Linked DNA regions of Homo sapiens: regions 2 and 3 are each linked to region 1. Evidence: promoter capture Hi-C in human tissues and cell types (Jung and others, 2019). All regions are on one chromosome and are shown on one strand. Each heading gives the region's core, a stretch centred on a gene start or on the middle of the fragment in contact. The rest is flanking DNA. Distances are from core to core; before and after follow the strand shown. Region 1 holds the start of PPP2R5C (protein phosphatase 2 regulatory subunit B'gamma). Region 2 overlaps CINP (cyclin dependent kinase 2 interacting protein). Region 3 overlaps MOK (MOK protein kinase).

The links. The method cuts DNA at HindIII sites, captures the fragments that hold promoters and counts their contacts. A contact is called where the count stands out against the background at its distance.
Region 2: a contact is called between a fragment that was not itself captured here and the fragment with the promoter of PPP2R5C in region 1, in 1 of the 25 tissues and cell types used here (dorsolateral prefrontal cortex).
Region 3: a fragment that was not itself captured here is called in contact with the fragment with the promoter of PPP2R5C in region 1 in 1 of the 25 tissues and cell types used here (hippocampus).

Annotation. Positions count from the first base shown.
Region 1 is chr14:101,760,137-101,763,132 of GRCh38, forward strand. It overlaps PPP2R5C (protein phosphatase 2 regulatory subunit B'gamma), which reads left to right and starts at 1,573. Exons shown (of 16, transcript NM_001352913.2): 1 at 1,573-1,784; 2 at 2,769-2,834. The coding sequence starts at 1,758. RefSeq lists silencers at 419-528, 599-748, 809-858, 1,319-1,478, 1,489-1,728 and 2 more. The HindIII fragment of the contact is 18,209 bases long and covers 1-2,996 here.
Region 2 is chr14:102,351,351-102,354,346 of GRCh38, forward strand. The region is part of intron 3 of CINP (cyclin dependent kinase 2 interacting protein); the gene reads right to left. Among named protein-coding and RNA genes, the nearest start is that of CINP, 10 kb to the right of the region's middle. The HindIII fragment of the contact is 9,147 bases long and covers 1-2,996 here.
Region 3 is chr14:102,293,075-102,296,070 of GRCh38, forward strand. The region is part of intron 1 of MOK (MOK protein kinase); the gene reads right to left. Among named protein-coding and RNA genes, the nearest start is that of MOK, 11 kb to the right of the region's middle. The HindIII fragment of the contact is 5,250 bases long and covers 1-2,996 here.

The DNA of each region.
Region 1 (2,996 bases), core at 323-2,822:
ACCAATGCCTCTCGCACGTGAAATCCGTACGCTCCTAGAGTCTTACTACCTAATGCATTTCTGCAATCTGGGACGCCTGTCCTTAGCGTCTTCAATAGTTTTGGGCACGAGGTGGACCGCGGAAGTATTGTATTGAAAAGTTAACGTTTTTCCCTTGGACACCCTCTCCTCACAGCTATTAACAAGCTGAGAGAAATCAGGTGACTCCCAGTCATGCAGAGGTTTCCTCACCATTTATGATCAAGCCAAATTAAAGAATAAAAATAAAATCCTATTGGCGCAGCGGCCACCAAGTCTTTGAGGCCTCGCCTCGGTGGGCGGGGCCGACGCCGGAGGAGAGGGGCTGCGCATGTGGGCGTGACCTCGCGGAAGGAGCTGCGGAGGGCGGGGCCGACTGGAGAGGGGCGGGGCTGTCGGGTGGGTGGGACCTCGCGGCAAAAGCTGCGGAGGGCGGGACCAACCAGGAAAGGACGGGACTGTCGGGTAGGCGGGACCTTGCGGGAGAAACTGCGGAGGGCGGGACCAACCAGGGAGGGGCGGGCTGTCGGATGGGCGGGACCTCGCGGGAGGAGCTGCGGAAAGCTGAGCTGGTGAGGGGAGGGGCTGGTCGAGGGGAGGGGCTGGTCGAGGGGAGGGGCTGGCCGAGGGAAGGGGCCGGCCGAGGGGAGGGGCCGGTCGAGGGGAGGGGCCGGTCAAGGGGAGGGCCCGGCCAAGGGGAGGGGCCGGTCGAGGGGAGGGGCCGGTCGAGGAGAGGGGTTGGTCGAGGGGAAGGGCTGGCCGAGGGGAGGGGCTGGCCGAGGGAAGAGGAGGGGAGGGGACGGGCTGGTCGAGGGGAGGGGAGGGGAGGGCAGGGGACGGGCTGGTCGAGAGAAGGGGAGGGCAGGGGACGGGGTGGTCGAGGGGAGGGGACGGAGGGGAGGGGAGTGGAGGGAGAGGAGGGAAGGGGAGGGGAGGGAAGGGAGGGGAGGCGGGGCCCAGCGGTGTCCCGCGAAACTGCCGCTCGCTCGGTTCCCGGGCCTCCCCGTGCGCCTCAGTGCAAAGCGTGCCAGGCACTCTTGACTGCAACGAGAGCCGCGGCGGTGAGGGGGCAAGGCCAAGAGGCCACGGTTCGCGTTTCGCCGGCTGCAGAAGTTGTTGCCATACATTTCAAATGTGCATTTCCTACGTCTCACGCTCTGTCTTGCGCCTCCACAGCGGGCCACGGCCCTGTCACCGCAGTCGCAGCCACATGCTCCCTCCCCTGAGTCGGCTCAGCTCTGCTCAGCGGTCAGCCCCGCGCCAGGAGGCCGCGGCCTGCCTGAGGCCGGCTCGCAGCGACTCGGGACGGAGGGCGGGGGCGTGAACGGGTCGCGCGGAGAGGGTGGGGGGAGCGGGGAGCGTTAGGGTACGTGGGGGCGCGTCGACCAATGGCAGGGCGCTGTTGAGTGCAGCGGGGCGGGGCCGGGCGCGGGGGTGGGGCGAGCGGCGGGCGGGGCGGGGCGGCCGGCCGGGGGGTGGGAGGAGAGGGGCGGGGCGGGCCGGCCGGGGGAGGGGCGGAGAGACGCCGCCGCTGCCGCCGCCGCCGCCGCCGCCGCCGCCGTGGCTGCCGCAGCCTCTGGGAGTCTGGAAAAGGGGAAGCGAGAGCAAGCGAAAGACTCAGTCCCCGGGCGGCGGCGGCGGCGGCGGCCGCGGGGGCGCGACGGCCGGGGCGGGGGCGCTGCTGCTGCGGGGGCAGGCGGCGGCAGGGGCGGCGGCGGCGGCGGCGGCCCGCTCCAGCCATGCCGAATAAAAACAAGAAGGAGAAAGTGAGTCCGGGCCCGGCCGCGGGACGGAGGGAGCAGGGAGGGACTGCCGGGGGAGGGCGCGACGGCACCGGGGTCCTGCGCCCGGGCCCCGGCTCAGTTCCCCGCCTGACGCCGCGGGCTTCGCGTCCCCGAGGGCGGCCGAGCCAGGCATCCCCGGGCTTCTCTCGGCCTCATGCCCGGTGGGGGCGGGGAGCCCGGGGATCGCGCCGGAGCCGCGGGGCGCAGGCCCGGGCCGCTGGGACCTTCGTGATGGGCCGGGGCTGGGCGTGGAGGGAGGGCGCGGCCCGGGGAGGGGGTCGGAGGGGCGCCCGTTTCCGACAGCGCGCCGTGGGCTTGGGCGGGCAGGTGCGGCCGCCGAGGGGGTTCGCAGCCTCGCAGGCTCCCGGAAAGGAGCTTCAGGGATGGGGGCTGTAGACGCCTGGGGAGGGACCCCTGTACGGGGGAAAGGGAGCGAGAAGGGACCCCGCTGAGAGCTGGTAAGGAATTCTCTGCCGCCCCGGAGGGACGCTCTGGGGCTCTCGAACACTATTATTATCCTGGGTGGCGGCGGCGGTGAGGGCTGCGAGCAAGGGTGCTGCGTTTGCATTCGGGGGGGCGGGTATGTTTCTGCTTCAGGTGGAGCTCTGTAGCGTTTCATTATCACCCCAGAAATCCTCACTCATAGGGTTTAGGGTGGGAGGGTAGAAAGGGATGTGATGTGGATCTCAAAATGCCAGAAGCACTGTATAAAATTGGATTTATCTGTTTTCTGCTTGAAGTTTTCAACCTCAAATGCAGATAAAACGAAAAGAATCTGAATGGGGGTTGGGGGGCATTGCACTGTTGGAATCCTAAACGGTATGATATAGAATTTCCTAATGGTATGAATTAAAAATATCAGAAGCTGTAGTTGTATAAATCACTTTTAAAACTGCATTTGGCTTATCTGATGTTTACCTGTCTAAAAAGTGAGAAGACTAATTGACTTTGCTTGATGTTTACCAGGAATCACCAAAAGCAGGGAAGAGTGGAAAAAGTTCAAAAGAAGGACAAGACACAGTAGAATCAGAGGTAACTGTCATCAAATATTGACTTTGTATTTTATACACAGCTTTTAACTTCAGGTAGAAAAACCGAGAGTGATAAAGCCTAGAATCTTCTAAAATGTTTCCCTATGTGAGGTTTTTTTTTTGTGGTGTCTTTTATAACCCTCAATTTTAGTTGTTTAGGTAT
Region 2 (2,996 bases), core at 325-2,824, 590 kb after region 1:
CACCAGGCAGCACAGAATAGGGGCAATGGCGGGCTTACTTTCACAGCTTGGTGAAGAGGATTAAGTGAGTTAGTATTTGTGAAGCACCTACTTGGAGATATATAAGGGTTGGATAAAGAAAATTAATGGGTGAAGTAACTAGGATTTCAGATTTAAGTAGCATAGGTCTATAAAGACCAAATTTTGAACTCCTAAGTATAGTTGACTTTACATACATAAATATGAAAAAGGGGAAATAAGAAAAGATATATAAATTGTCAAATATCTTAATTCCTTTACTTGGTCCTTCCAACCACCCTCCAATTACATTGGAAGTGGCAAGCACTAAATTCAGCTAACGTTAATTTTTAAAGGACTTTACTTAAGTAGTTTCCCAAATCTTTTAAGGTTTGATATTTTATTTGGCCCAACCCCAAGAGGCAGGACTTGTCATTTCCGTTTCACAGCTGGGAAATTGCTTAAGGTTGAGCTGAGGAAGGATGAGGCCAGAACTCGATACCATGCCTTCTGACACCAAGTTTTTTTGTTTTTGTTTTTGTTTTTGTTTTTTTTGAGACAGAGTCTCGCTTTGTCACCCAGGCTGGAGTGCAGTGGCGCGATCTCCGCTCACTGCAACCTCCGCCTCCCGGGTTCATGCCATTCTCCTGCCTCAGCCTCCCAAGTAGCTGGGACTACAGGCGCCCGCCACTGTGCCTGGCTAATTTTTTTGGTACTTTTAGCAGAGCTGGGGTTTCACTGTGTTAGCCAGGATGGTCTCGATCTCCTGACCTTGTGATCCGCCCACCTCAGCCTCCCAAAGTGTTGGGATTCCAGGCGTGAGCCACCGCGCCCAGCCGACACCAAGTTTTAACACCCAATCCTCTGCTCTTTCCTGTGAGTCCTGCAGCAGCTCCCTGGTGCCACCTGATTCTAAGAAAAGCTGATAACAGGAGACTAAGGAAAATTCTGGAGCCTTGACCCCAGGCAAGAAGTCATGCTCAATCCTGCAGCTCAGCCATCAATAAAGAATTCAAGTCACATAGGCACGTGCAGCCCTGAATGAACAGTGCATAAACAGCAGGCCCTTACATTTCAACATCGGTGGCTTCTTCCCACAGCAAACACAGACCACAGTGAAATGTTAGCCCAGCTTAGGAAGAACGGTGCATGAAACCCCCAGAAGGTCAAAGTTATGAAAGACACAGACCAGGTCTGGAAACCATTCTCTATAACGGATAGAGGAAAATAGGAAAAATAATAATACCCTATAAAATCAACTTTTGGTTTTGAACATAGAATGAGAACTTATTCCCAAACCACTTTTCTTTTTCTTTTTTTCTTTTTTTTGACACGGAGTCTCACTCTGTGGCCCAGACTGGAGTGCAGTGGCTTGATCTCGGCTAACTGCAACCTCCGAAAGTGATTCTCCCGCCTCAGCCTCCCAAGTAGCTGGGATTGCAGGCACCTGCCACCACCCCCAGCTAATTTTTTGTATTTTTAGTAGAGATGGGGTTTCACTATGTTGGCCATGCTGGTCTCAAACTCTTGACCTCAGGTGATCCACCTGCCTCGGCCTCCTAGAGTGCTGGGATTACAGGCATGAGCCACTGCGCCTGGCCAAAACAAAAATTAAAAAAAAACAAATAAAAATACAACAATTAGCTGGGTGTGGTGGCAGGCACCTGTAATCCCAGCTACTTGGGAAGCTGAGACAGGAGAATCACTTGAACCCAGGAGGCAGAGGTTGCAGTGGGCAGAGATCACCCCACTGCACTCCAGCCTGGGCAACAAGAGTGAAACTCCATCTCAAAAAAAAAAAAAATTAACAAATGGGAGGGAGGGAACAAATCTCCCACGCAGAATAATTCCAAATAATTTATGTAGATACTGCACCCTCAAGCAGGTGGTGAATACGTCCCTACCCCCAGGTGTGGGCTATGCATAGTGACTTCCTGCCAAAGAGCACAGCGTGGGAGGAGGAGAAAGAGCAACGTCACAGCAGAGGAACCTGGAAACACTGCCCAGCCAGGTGATCAAGGTCAACTTCAGCAGTGGAAAGTCCTGGCTGTGCACAGTGGCTCACGCCTGGAATCCCAGCACTTTGGGAGGCTGAGGTGGGAGCACTGCTTGAGCCCAGGAGTTTGAGACCAGCCCGGGCAATAGGTGGGACCCAAAGAAAAGTCCTGATGACAGTATATCCAGTACGTGCCCTTGATATGACATGATAGAAATGGCACTTTACTTCTGTGGTCCTCCTCTGAACAAAACCCGTAACCTCAGTCTAATTAGGAGAAAAACATCAGATAAATCTCATGATGTTCTACAAAATACCTGACCAGTATCCCTCAACATTGTCAAAGTCATCAAAAACAGGGAAGTCTGAGAAACTGTCACGGCCAAAAGGAGCCTGAGGAAACAAGGGGACTCGATGTCATACAGGATCCTGAAGCCAAAACAAGACATGACGGAAAAGCTAAGGCAGGGCGCCAGGGCTCACACCTGTGATCCCAGCACTTTGGGAGGCCAAGGTGGGAAGATCACTTCATGTCAGGAGTTCGAGACCAGCCTGGCCAACATGAGAACCCCGTCTGTACAAACGAATTTTAAAAATTAGCCGGGCATGATGGTTCATGCTTGTAGTCCCAGCTACTCGGGAGGCTGAGGCAAGAAGATCACTTAAGCCCAGGAAGTAAAGGCTGCAGTGAGCTGTGATCATACTACTGCATTCCACAGCGAGACCTTGTCTCCAAACAAACAAAAAGGTGAAAATATAAAGATCTTAAATGTTTATGGGTAAGCTTCAGTTATCCAAGTTCAAATATGTGTAAAACCTGATTTCCTGTGCCTAGCAAAGAAATAAGGTGGTGTTATCTTCACATCTGGTGGCCAGTATGGTAGGTATTGAAATTTAGTTATTAGTTCATTAAACAAACACTTTAGTCTCTTACGTGCTGTATCAGGGATGGGCAAACTATCCCTGGAACACAGGTCAATTCTGGCCCATAGCCTATTTCTGT
Region 3 (2,996 bases), core at 248-2,747, 530 kb after region 1:
GTGAGCGGAGATTGTGCCACTGCACTCCAGCCTGGGTGACAGAGCTAGATTCCATCTCAAAAACAAAAAACAAATGAACAAACAAAAAACTTCATAAACAAAGATGGTATTCACAGTGTCACAAAAGTAAGAATGCCAGAAACTTAAATATCCAGTATCAAGGAAATGTTCTAACAAACTATGAAATAGCCACAGACTGAAATATTATGTAACCATTGATAACGATGCTTTCAAATAATATTTCATGACATGGGAAAATGTTCAGCCATAATTTCATGTTAAGTGAAAAAAAGGATGATAATGATCATACACACAACACATGCACAGAGAAAGACTGAATACAGCTGGGTGCGGTGGCTCACGCCTGTAATCCCAGCACTTTGGGAGGCTGAGGCAGGCGGATCACCTGAGGTCAGGAGTTCGAGACCAGCATGACCAACATGGAGAAACCCTGTCTCTACTAAAAATACAAAATTAGCCAGGTGTGGTGGTGCATGCCTGTAATCCCAGCTACTCGGGAGGCTGAGGCAGGAGAATCACTTGAACCCAGGAGGCGGAGGTTGCGGTGAGCCAAGATCATAGCACCATTGCACTCCAGCCTGGGCAACAAGAGCGAAACTCCATCACAAAAAAAAAAAAAAAAAAAAAAAAAGAAAAGAAAAGAAAAAAAAGAAAAAGACTGAATATAAATATGTAATTTTTTTAATGTATCTGAGTGGGACTGAAGGTGATTTAAATTTTCTTCATTATAATTATCTACATTACTCAATGTTCGCAATGAATACACATTACTTTAAATGTGTGTAAAGGTGAACATTTCAAGAATTTTAAGAAATCAGTGAAAGTGTTGGCTAAGTGCCACGAAAAACATGAACTTAAAATGAACTGTCTTAAAACTACAATATCCTTTTAAAGGAAGACAGTCATAAAGATCACGGGAAGGGGCCAGGTGTGGTGGCTCATGCCTGTAATCCCAGCACTCTGGGAGGCTTAGGCAGGCGGATCACCTGATCCCAGGAGTTTGAGACCAGCCTGGGTAACATGGTGAAATCTTGTCTCTACCAAAAATACAAAAAAATTAGCCAGGTGAGGCCGGGTGCGGTGGCTCATGCCTGTAATCCCAGCACTTTGGGAGGCCAAGGCGGGCGGATCACGAGGTCAGGAGATCAACACCATCCTGGCTAACATGGTGAAACCCCGTCTCTACTAAAAATACAAAAAATTAGCCAGGCGTGGTGGTGGGCACGTGTAGTCCCAGCTACTCGGGAGGCTGAGGCAGGAAAATGGCATGAACCCGGGAGGCGGAGCTGGCAGTGAGCCGAGATAGCGCCACTGCACTCCAGCCAGGGTGATAGAGCGAGACTCCGTCTCAAAAAAAAAAAAAAAAAAAATTAGCCAGGCATCGTGATGCGTGCCTGTAGCCCCGGCCACTTGGGAGGCTGAGATAGGAGAATCCTCTGAGCCCGGGAAGTCAAGGCTGCAGTGAGCCATGATGGTGCCACTGTACTCCAGCCTGAGTGACAGACAGCGAGAGACCTTGTCTCAAAAAGAAAAAAAAAAGAAAATCAAAGGAGGGATTGGAGGTCAATCACTCAAAGTCAAGCTGTGGACTAAGGAATTCAGATTTAAGAGAAGAGGGAATTTACACAATCAATTCCAATTTGTGTTTCATCACAGATAAATTAAGCAGACTTGCTTTAAAAAAAATAGGTCAACTGTGAACTGTAAAGTGGTTTCAGCACACAAATTCAGTGTGTGCCAATGTCCCAGGCTGGCTCGAAACCATCACAACCAGCAATAAATGGAACTTGCCGCACTGGAGGTGTCTGTTGGTAGATAAAGGGGTCACTTGTTTCCCTCATGGCTCTTCTAGTAGGCAGAAAGTATGGGGTATAAAACAAGGATAAGAGGCAGGGATTAAAAAAGAAACCACCTCTATGAAAAAATTCCTGGGAAAAGTTCCTGTTCTCTCCAACAAGATCTGGCGTATTTTCATAGGCCTTCAAAATTAAACAAGAAACACTGAAATGCAGACAAAGCATGATACAAAGCTCTGAAGGGAACAGAGCTATGATACTGTAAATGAACGTCATGCCCCACATTATTGGGAATAGAGTAAACAAGCACCAAAACAAAAAGAAAAACAGACTCAAGGACAAAGGGGTTAAAATAACAGAGCTGGATGAAAAAGGGAGAACAAGGGAGATAAATGAATACCTCTGTATTAAGATTCTATGCACATTTATTAAACCAAGGCTTGTTTGTTGAAGTGGAATTTAAGCCTTATTTAACAAGTGAAAATGAAGGTCAAATTCACTTTTTGTGAAATGCAAAACTTGTCACGTTCAAGTCCAAACATTTTTATTCATGTGCTGTTTATAAAGTTCTTAATCAGGGTGGGTGACAGGCATCAGAGCTATGGGGCTTCACCAGTAGAGGGAGGAAAAGAATTGGGGGAGGTTAATTGCTGACTACAACTAGAGTATGCGAGGAAGAAGATTTCAGCTTCTTACTAATTTCCATTCTCTTCGAGAGATTAAACAGTTCAAACCAAATTACTAAAACAAGGTCAGGAAGCTTCAGTGAAGAGGAGCTGTACACAATTAATTATTTGATATAGTGAGGAAAATTATGACCTGAATTACTAAACATTGTGAAAACAGAAAAGAACACAAAACTATTCAAAAATTCTTAAAATTTTAAAATTGAAATTACACCTATTAACCCAGTAAGTCCACTGTTAATAAACTTGAAGAATTATTCAAAGATCTATGTTCTGGACTGGGCGTGATGGCTCACATCTGTAATCCTAACACTTTGGGAGTGCAAGATGGGAGGATCACTTCAGATCAGGAGTTCATGACCAGCCTGGTCAACATAGCAACACCTGGCTAGGCATAGTGGCTCATGCCTGTAATCCCAGCACTTTGGGAGACCAAGACGGGTCGATCACCTGAGGTCAGGAGTTCAAGACCAGCCTGGCCAATATGGTGAAA